Regions from separate parts of the Homo sapiens genome. Here region 2 is linked to region 1. Evidence: promoter capture Hi-C in 16 types of primary human blood cells and fetal thymus (Javierre and others, 2016). All regions are on one chromosome and are shown on one strand. The core of a region is centred on a gene start or on the middle of the fragment in contact, and the rest is flanking DNA. Distances in the headings are between cores, read along the strand shown. Region 1 holds the start of ABRACL (ABRA C-terminal like). Region 2 has its middle 650 kb from the start of GJE1.

Evidence for each region. The method cuts DNA at HindIII sites, captures the fragments that hold promoters and counts their contacts. A CHiCAGO score of 5 or more calls a contact.
Region 2: a fragment that was not itself captured here is called in contact with the fragment with the promoter of ABRACL in region 1 in 1 of 17 cell types (total B cells); the score reaches 5.9 in total B cells.

The regions. Positions count from the first base shown.
Region 1 is chr6:139,025,893-139,031,244 of GRCh38, forward strand. ABRACL (ABRA C-terminal like) reads left to right here and starts at 2,853. Exons shown (of 3, transcript NM_021243.3): 1 at 2,853-2,983. RefSeq lists silencers at 3,017-3,176, 3,437-3,806, 3,856-4,046 and enhancers at 3,700-3,994, 3,817-4,636. The HindIII fragment of the contact is 5,437 bases long and covers 1,143-5,352 here.
Region 2 is chr6:141,484,576-141,489,927 of GRCh38, forward strand. It overlaps the pseudogene RN7SKP106. Among named protein-coding and RNA genes, the nearest start is that of GJE1, 650 kb to the right of the region's middle. RefSeq lists a silencer at 4,024-4,224. The HindIII fragment of the contact is 2,596 bases long and covers 1,281-3,876 here.

The DNA.
Region 1 (5,352 bases), core at 1,603-4,102:
TGTTATTTTTCTCCTTCCAGGAACATGTAATAAGTTTTTAAGTAAAGTATTAGCATATAATATAACGCTTTATTCTGGAATTGTCTATAGCTACACTGTCTAATACAGCAGCCACTAGCCATAGAAGGCTATTGAGCACCTGAAATGTTGGGTAAATGTAAAATACAAAATAGACTTACAAGATTTAGTATGAAATAAAGAATGTACAATGTCTTATTAATAATTTCAAAATATCCATTACAGGTTGAAATGATAGTAGTTTGGATATACTGGGTGAAATAAAACATATTATTAAAATAAATCTCACCTTTTTAAAAAAAATGTGGCTACTAGAAATTTTAAATTGGACGTGTTGTTCACAATTTTATTTCCTTCGGACAGTGCTGGTCCGAATTAAATACATGCAATTAAATTACAATGCATGCAATTAAATACATGGATAAGGATTGTTTTAATATTTCAAATGTACATTACTTGCAGTTCTGTTTGACAAAGGACAGGTCATGGGCTACTTTGGACGATTTAGTATTGGCACTTTGTGGCTGGCACATTTATTTAAAATATATTAAATACTCTTTAATTTGATAAATTGTATTATTTTCTTTTTAGGTTAAACTTCCACATTGCTTACATTGTACATGATGATATTCCTGAGGGAATAAGAATAGATAACAAAAGTCTATTTGGAAATTGAAGGACTAGGATTGGATATGAAAAATATTAGTTAAGATTTTTTAATATTTCTTTTATCAAAACAGCTTTCTTTTTTCTTTTCTTTTCTTTTCTTTCCTTTTTTTTTTTTTTTTTTTTTTTTGAGATGCAGCCTCACTCTGTTGCCCAGGCTGGAGTGCAGTGGCACGCTCTTGGGTCACTGCAACCTTCGCCTCCTGGGTTCTAGTGATTCTTCTGCCTCAGCCTCCAGAGTAGCTGGGATTACAAGCATGTGCCACCACGCCTGGCTAATTTTTGTATTTTTAGTAGAGACGGGGTTTTGCCATGTTGGGCAGGCTGGTCTCGAACTCCTGACCTCAGGTGATCCGTCCACCTTGGCCTCCCAAAGTGTTAGGATTACAGGCATGAGCCACTGCGCCCAGCCGACAAAACAATTTTCTTAAATTGTAATTCCTTATAGATTAACATAAAGCTTGTGTTATACTTAGTTTAGCACATGTGTAAACAAAGTATCTTTTGGGTGAGTTTATTTTTATATTAACAAGGATGTTTACTTCTTTAGGTAAAGTAACCTATTTCTTTTTCTTTGGTTGGCAATTAGGGCAATACTAATTACCTAATCATAACAGAAGCGGTGCTCTCCAGACTCATTATTCCTATCATTGGATATTATCTGACTGATGAATTGTGATCCCTGTCACAGGCCAAAATAGCGAGGTCCTGCTTCGATAATTGCTAAATATATTTTTCTTGAATTATATATTTTTTGCCTTATGTCGACTGTGAAAGATATAAACTATAACTTCTCACCTTTCTTTTGGTGAGAAAAAAATAGGCCTCAATCATTTTGGTAACAATATAAAACAAGTAAAAGAAAAAAATAGGTCTGAAAAGATCTTGGAGTCACCTTAAACTTTATCTGCCATGAGACACTTAGAAGAATCAGACCTTTGTTGAAGATTACAGAACAGAGACTCCTTCAGTCACACCCAGGAGACAGGTATTCACCGTAAAGACTAGAATGAAGCGTGGGAAGTGGATGGATCCAGTGCAGCCCCAGGGAACTGAACACTCACATGCCCCTGGGAAGCAGGTCTTTGTTGCTCTCCTTCCATCACTTGGTCTCAGCTTGTCTTTGACTGGCTTCTACCACTTGTGCCTCCACCCAACCTGCTGCTACATTCTCCTGGTTTCTGCTTACTCAAATGTTTTGCATCCGAAGCCCATTTTGGCCCCTTCTGCCTTACCCTCTCTTAGCTCCAACCTTTCTCTTACATCAGACAGCTCCGTCTCTGCATTCTCCACTTTCCATTTCCAAGGGAGTGTCTGATTGGCTTACTAACTATCAGAGTCCGTGTTTGATGAGAACTGTTTGCTCCAGGTCACCTCACAGGATGATGACTACATCACGGATTGTGCGCTCTTGGGTCACGCGATCACTCTTAATTTAAATTAGCTGGGCTGGGGGTGGGGAGGGGGTAAGGAACGTTTTTTGTAGTTATTTGTGCAACCCCTGCTCTAGAAATAGTTTGGGTAACTGTTTCCTTTCCAAAAGGACTCTCTGGGTACGGTAAGCATCTCTCTCTCACACACGCATATATTAAAATAACAGTGACTAAAACAAAGGGAGCATGAATAAATTGAATTATGAAGTTAAATGTATGAAATAATGAATGAACAAGGGAAGAAACCGATACTGACCCAGGGTCAACAACTATCTATGTCCAAGTAAAATTTCTTTGCAGTCTGACAAATTGGCTTTCAAGATTGCATTTTGTTTTGCGAATTAAGCCATTTTTAAGTCATGAGTCGTAGTTTTCTGGAGGCCCCCGGCATCCGGAACCCATGAATGCCACGTTCTTTCTAGCAGCCTTCAGCAATTTGAGGGCGCTTTGTTTCTTACGTTGGGAGAGAAATCCATCAGGAAATCGACGCCCAGGATCAGATGCAGATCCTGGGATCCTTGGCTCTGAGTAGCACGGTGGAAAAGTGAGGTAATCCAGGCTCTGGGCCCGTTTTCCTAGGAGCCCAGGGCGCTTCACCTGTCTGCAGTCAGCCCCTTTCTTGGACGTCTCCTCCCCTGAGTTTCCTCCTCATAGGCTTGTCCCTGGGAGTGTGGGCGGCCCCTTTCTTGAGCGCAGAAACACTTACTTTTCCCCCTACCCTGCTCCTCCTCCTCCACAGCCGTCTTTCTCTTTGCCTCAGCCACTTCCTTCCTTGGCCTCACCCTCCCCAGTGCACTGAAGAAGGTAACCGGGTCCAGACCCACGCGGCGCCAGTTCTCCGGCGGGAAGGAAAACCGCGCAGAGAGGTGCGTGAGCGCCCGGGCAGATGTGGCTTAGGTAGCAGGGATGGACTGGGTGTCCGTGGTGCGCCGCCGGGCACCGCGGGCTGCGGTGAGAGTCGGGTCAGGAGGGGGCCGGGAGGGGGCTCAGGGCGCGCGGAAGCTGCGACCGGCTGGGCCGAGACCTCGCGGGTTGGGGTCCCGTGGGGCGCGCGCCGCCCACGCCCCCACCTCTCGGGTCGACTTCCGCACTCGGCTCACGTGACGTTTCGCCGGCCGGGGGCGGACTGGGAAGCCGGCAGAAATGGAACGATTTTTACCGCGGTGCGACGTGTCGGCTTTGCACTTGGCGGTGGTTCAGGAGCCAGTTCTGCAGAGCTGGGTGGGGAAGGGCTGGGGGCGAGAGGAGAGGCTGCCCCGAGGAACGTGGTGGCCTCAGGGCAGTGGACTCTGCAGCGCCGGAGGTGGGTGCGGCTCTGTGCGCTCCAGATCAGGGGGTGCAGAGTCGTGAGGGGACACCAGGGGCTCGTGGAGCCCGGGGCAGGGTCCGTTTTCGTCGCCCGGGTTGGGTGCTCGCTCTCGCGGCGCTTCGGGGCGCCCGGGCCACGGGGGAGGCAGACCCGCGGCGCCGGGCCGGGAGCTGCGGAGACAAAGACTTCCGGGACGCGGCCCTTCCCGGGCGCCAGCGGTGCCGCCCCGCCACGGGGGGCCCAGCCCCGCGCTCCCCAGCCCTGCACTGGTGCCGGCGGTGACCGTGTGATGATGGGCTGCAGGGCACGGGGTTAGGGGACCTCTACCAGGCAGAACCCCAAGCTGGTAGCAGAATGGCCAAATATGGAGTGAGCGCGCCCCAGACCGGAGGGAGTAAGGAGCCCAGTCACCCTTTGACCCGCACCAGCTGCTTGTCCGCGATTGCGAAGAAGGGCTGGGAAAACGTGCCCAGCCCGAGTGTGTAAAGTTGGTTCCTGATTCCGGACATACCTATTCCAGTAGGCTTTATTTCCTTGGATATTAGAAAATCTCCATGCATTGCCTCCAAACTTTTGAAAAATAACAATGCCCTGAGGGTCCTTAAATACATTCTAAAGTGTGTATTGGTGGTGAGTTTCGGGTTCTGCCCAGTCCTCCGACTTTCCGCTTCCTTTGTGTTTCCCACGCACAAAGCCGAAATCGATTCTGCGACAATTAGAGTGCCTGGCCGTCATCTACCTCGCCTTCCCTGGAGCCTTTTCCTGTCTTCTGGTCCAGCCGCTCACCATTAAGCTCTTCCCTTTAGACTTGCTCTGCTTCTCACCTCTCCTCATTGTTCTTTTCTTTTTTTTTTTCTTAGACATAGTTTCACGGTACTCGTGAGAATGTGTTACATTCGTATAACCAAATCAGGGTAATTGGTATATCCATCACCCTAAATATTTATCTCTTCTTTATGCTAGGAACATTCAACTTAACTTGCTTTTAGCCATTTGGAAGTGTACAATCCATTAATGTGAACTATAGTCACCCCACTGATCAATGCAACACCAGGTCTTATTTCTTCTGTGTTTATACCCATCAACCTCTCTTCACCCTCCGCCCCCTTCATTGTTCTTCATCTTGCTCTCTGCAGTCCTGGGATTCTGTCCTTATTATAAAAGGCCATGGGTCTTTAAAGGATTGTGTCACAATAGGTATTTTTCCCCCTTTGTCCCTCTCCTTCCTAAATAATAAATAAATAAAACGTCAAATTATGTATGCTAGCAATTGTTTTTAAACCTGTTATTTTCCTATTTATGGTGGTCTGGGCAGGGAGCCTTTCTTGCTTTGTAAGTGTTCTGCCTTGGTAAGAGCTCAGCATGTCACGTTTCATACAAATACCACTCACTATTATATTTAGTGTATTTGCATAATGGCAAAAGAGGAAGAGGAAGCGGGGAAACAGCCACCACGATGTGGTAGAGACAGCATTTAATTGTGGGGCATTAACCCCTGTTTCGTTATCCTTAAAATAGAGGTAAATAAATGCCTTGCAAGGTTCTTAGAACTACATGAATTAACGTAGATAAGGAGCCTGATGTGTAATTAATTATAAAGAAACGCTGGTTGCCTTTCATGCTTAAAATTGGATGAACGTACATCTGCTTACTATAATGCAGGTATGCGTACTATATATAATAGATGAATTTCCCCTTTGATGCTCATTATTCAATGAGAGCTAAGTCTGAAGTATGTTGCTGGAGGTGGGAGGAAGGAGCGAAGAAGGGTGTTAAAGAGATAACATCTTTCCGGGGTCGGGAATCAGAGAATCAGAGAATTGGAAAGTTCCTTAATTTCTTTGGACATTTTCATTCTCCCTCTGTCCAGTACAGGCTAATTTCCTCATCATCCCTCACAGATCCTTACTATGTCTGCATTAATAT
Region 2 (5,352 bases), core at 1,329-3,828, 2.5 Mb after region 1:
CAAAACTCTAACCTCTGTAGTTCCTGTAGTAACGCAGTGTAACTTGAAATTTGCCATTTTACTTGGAAGGCTCAAAGATTCCTCAATGGCCCATCTTATTTTAGTATTTCCTTTGCCAAGATTAAGATTGAGGTGATGATTGTTTAATTAAATTAAATTTGGCTTGAGGCTGTCTCGGTACCGTAGGTCCCTACATAACAAACTACAATTTAACTAAACAAACTGAAAGCCTAATTTAGGAGTATATATTGTAACAAATTGCTAGGTCTCAGCCAGTCACAGCCGACTAGCTTCAGCCAATCACAGGCTGCCAATTGATCAGACCATGTCCAAACAAGTAAAAAATGCTAAGCTGTAACCAACCAGTTTCTGTACCTTACTTTCATTTTCTGTCCATATGTACTGCCTACCTACTTTGCAGAAGTGAGATCTCTGAACCACTCTGCTGGCTCTTGAGAGCTACTGGATTCCCAAATAATTCTCTGCTTCATTAAACTCCTTTAAATTTGTCTAAAGATTTCCTTTTAATACATTTCATCTCATTTTTATTTTTCTAAATTTTGATAACTTTCATTGACTTTTATCATAAAAATCAAGTCTAATACAAAATAAAACAATATAAAAATAAATGTATTGAAATTATATCAATTTTATTTCCTGACATATTTTCTTGATTTATATCATTACAAAAGATAAAAACTATCAGCATGGAGTTTTGAAACCATAAAAAATTTTTTTGAAAGAATGAGGAAAAGCAGCAAGAACTTTGGGTGTGATGGAGGTATGTGGTTAATTTAATAGGACTGATTTTTTTTTTAATTCTGGGATTTTTCTCACATAACCATATAATCTATTTGAAAACCAGATATTTACTAGAAGAGAGTGGCAAATATCCACTACTGAATAGATAAGAGTTTAGACATTAAAACTGAAAGCACTCTTAAGTATTTTACATGTAAAGAGGTTTAAGACACAGAACTAGTGGCCAATAAAACTGCTGAGAGGTGGCAAAATGACAGTCAGAAAAGCTGCTTTCAAGATATTTTTAAGTGAAGGAATCTCAGGAAGCCATTAACAATTATTTTAGTTGCCTACCACACCTAAGAAGATGATTCTCAGGAAGATCTCCAAAATCAATGGGCAAAAACCCATGTCTGCCATTTGTCAAAGCCCACACATTTATCCTCAGCCATGGCATGAGAACAATGGCTTCTGCTCTTCTACAACACCAAGAAATTTTCTCTTATCACTTAGATACAACTGAACCCCAATGGCAATGAAGCTTGTTTCCAGTCTTTATGTCCCTGTGAAATAAGAAACAACTTACAAATTTAGAGATGATAATACAGCAACAATATCTGAAAGAACTACACTTGAACACAAGAATTCAAACCCTAAAAGTAATAAAGTAATACCAATAATGATGTTATTTCACATACAGCTGTTCAATTGGATAATCACTGAATTGTCCTTACCGTTTAATTTATTTTTCTCCAGACTTACTCTATATGAACTATTCAACAATAGCAACAAAATAAATCAATAAATAATAAACAAGAGAGGTGAAGAATAATATCATGTGATTGATTTTTCTCTTCTTGAGAGCTTGTTTGGAAGTTCTAGCAGGGAAGCCCATCTACTCACGTGCCCTTGACTGAAGATGGGTCCTTCTCCATCGCGGATGGTCATCCTCTTTTACCGAGCACACAGCTTTGGAAGGAACGCATATGGAGTGGTGAGGAAGGAAGGGAACACCTGTCTAGTCAACCAGATCTGCTGCACCAACCCTGGCAATCAAATGGTTGATAGATGTTGCTCTTAGATTGCCCTCATATCCATAATTTTTCTCTTCTTCTTCTTCTTCCTTTTACCAAAACAACTACAACAACAACAAAACAAATAACTTTAATTTTGAAATGGCATTATGAGAAAAGGGTTCTGTATCGTGCTAATCCTTTTTTTTTTTTTTTTTTTTTTGAGACAGAGTCTGGCTCTCTCGCCCAGGCTGGAGTGCAGTGGCGTGATCTCGGCTCACTGCAACCTCTGCCTCCTGGGTTCAAATGATTCTCCTGCCTCAGCTTCCTGAGTAGCTGGGATTACAGAAGCTCACTACCACGCTCAGCTAATTTTTGTATTTTTAGTAGAGACGGGGTTTCACCACGTTGGCCAGGCTGTTCTCGAACTCCTGACCTCATGATCCGCCCACCTCAGCCTCCCAAAGTGCTGGGATTACAGCTGAGCCACCACACCCAGCCTGTGCAAATACTTTTTATGAGGAAATCATAGAAAAAGTATCTGTTAGTTGACAGGCAGTATCCATATTACAGTGTTTGGTTTGAGCACTTGAGTTGTTCTGAAGCTAGGTTACCATGAAAATAAATACAGTGATACTTGGAATCAGAGAACACATATGGTCAGCATTTTCCAGATGGCATATTTATGTCAAATGTATAGACATTATAAGAAAAAATATTATAAGTCAATATTAAGAAGACTCTCTAAATATTTAGGTAAATACAATGCACTGTTCCCTCCGCCCAGAAATAGAGTATGATCCTGGCACCTTGCCAAGAAACACATAGAAATATCCTTGTACGTTGTGCTTATAGTAGATAATCTGAAAAGTTTCATCCAAATCTTAAATTCTAGATATGAATAGTTTGTAATAAAGTGTTAGAAGGATCAAGATTAAAAATTATTTGCATATGGTTCCCAACGCCTCTTAGTAATCAGTGGATGATAAGTTCCTTGTAACTTATTTTAATAAAAAGTCTTGAGTACAGAATGTGAGTATATTATAGACTAAATATTTATATTCCTTCCCCCAGATTCATATATTGAAGGCCTAACTGCCAATATGACTGTATTTGTGTATTTGGGGAAGAAGCCTCTACAGATATAATTAAGGTTAAATAAGATCATTAAATTGGGACACTAATCCAATAGAAATAATGTCTTTATAAGAAGAAACACCAGAGAGAAAAATAACTTTCTCCTCTCTCTCACTCTCTCTCTTTCTCTCTCTCTCTAGCTGTCTCTCCAGGAGGACACAAAGAAAAGATCAAGACAGCATGTAGCAAATGTAGCAAGGAGGCATCCAATCATCTGCAACCCAAGGGGCAAACCCTCGCCACACACCAACCCTGCTGGCTCCTTGCTTTTGGACTTCCAGTTTCAGAATTATGAGAAAATACATTTCTGTGTTTAGGCCATCAAGTCTATTGTATTTTGTTCTGACAGCCTGAACAGACTAATACACAGTATAATACAATTGAATTGTTGATTCATCTAAGAAATATATAATTTCTACATGGTTTGTTGCAATTATCTGGGAATAAATATTACCATGACCACTTATTCAGAACTTGATATCTGTATTTATTTCTAAGCATGCATATAATCCCATTACTTGGTAGTCATTTGAATGTATGTTCCACACTTACACCAAAAAGTGATAATAGTATTGACTTCATATAAGAAGTCTTGATAGTCAGTAGTATTGACTTCACATAAGAAAATATTATAAATTAATTCCAATTCCAATTTATGAAGATATTATAAATTTAATATCTCTGAATGTAAATTCTCGGTTGTTCTAGATATAAAAATAAATTATTGATTTATTTTGCTAAGCTACTATAAAACACAATAAAATTTAAAAGCCTCAATTTTGCTGATTGTTTACTATTACAAATCATGCTGGAATGGACATTCTCATATTCTGTTTAGTCTTAATCCTTCCCCCACCAAATCCAATGGAGTCAAGGATTTGGACACAGACACTTTATTTTGAAGTTGATCCCAGGCACCAAAAATGAGAAAAGAAAGAAAGGGAAATAGGTAAGAGAAAAGGGGCAATAAAGTTACGTCTTAACAAGCTTGAGTACCACAGTTAACAACTGAGTCACAATCCCACTGGGGATTGTAAGGAACATACCTTGGGTTAGTTCTACCCCAGTACAAGGAAGCTACAGGATTTAGCCATTGCCTTTTAGCCCCAATTGTTGAGGATTTCCCTTAAGTAGTGTTAACACAGGCACATACTGAGTGTTCCTGTGTCCAGCATTTCTATCTCATTTGTTTTCAGAGAAACGGCTTAAGTGGAGAAGGGTGATGCAGAAACAGGAAGTTACAGTCTAGCAGCAGGTCAGTAGCTGTTTAAAGGAGCAGTAGGTGAACTCATCAGGCCAAAGGGACAGGGAGCATTTACTAAATTTGCACATATGTAAGAGTTTCTCTAGTGTACACATTCAGTAATGATTTCATTACTGAGCTGTCTATGGCTGTTTCTTCAACCTTATAAGATATTGCTACATTGCTCCTCAAGGTTGTGCTGCCCAAAGACAATCCTGCCAAAATAATGAAATGTTCCAGTGGTGTAAAATTTTTATCAGTATATATATAATGGTTATATATATATGTGTGTGTGTGTTTGTGTGTGTATATATATATGGTTAAAATAATATTTTTATCAAATATGTATATACAATTTATGATATAAATTATAAATTATGGTAAAATTATATATTATTATAAACATACATTATAATGTATTATATACATAATTTATATATATATAAAAACCATTTTTGAGGCACTGTTTTTCTTATCAATCCATTAGTTCTTAAACTTTAAATTTTCAGTGTCTTTTCTATATTTTTATTTATTTGTTTTCTGTGCATATTGATTAATTAGATGTGGGGAAGACTAGTTGGGTGTTTTTAAAAATAATAATTCTAAACACATAAGCAAATTGAGAAAAAAATCAGTATTCTTAGACTTTTATAAGTAAGCATATCAGGTAAAGGTTGACCCACAGTTAAACATTTTAGGTCTTTTAGAAAACTCCAAGTAAAAGTTAGATAATTTATCCCTCAGAATTAGATAAGTAATTTTGCCTGTCATGATTATAAATCTGTGCATTGAAATATTTTGACTTTTTATTTGCTAACCCAATGTGACTTGGTCCGCTTTCTAGTGCTATAACAGAATACCATACCTGGGTAATATTTATGAAGAAAAGAAGTTTATTTTGTTCAAGTTTCTGGAGACTGAAAAGTGCAAGAGCATGGTGCTGGCATCTGGCTAGGGCCCTCCTGCTGCATCATCCCATGGCAGATAGGCAGAAATGCAAGAAAGCAGACAAGACAGAGAAGGGGCCAAAATAACTAACCCACTCTCATGATACAGACCTAATTTATTCATGAGGGAAGAGCCCTTATGACCTTATTGAAAGTTCCCACCTTTTCAATGTTGCTGCATTGAGGATTAAGTTTTCAACACACAAACTTTGGGGGATGTACTAAAACCACAGCACAAGGTAACATATGTGTTAACTTACAGTGTACATTA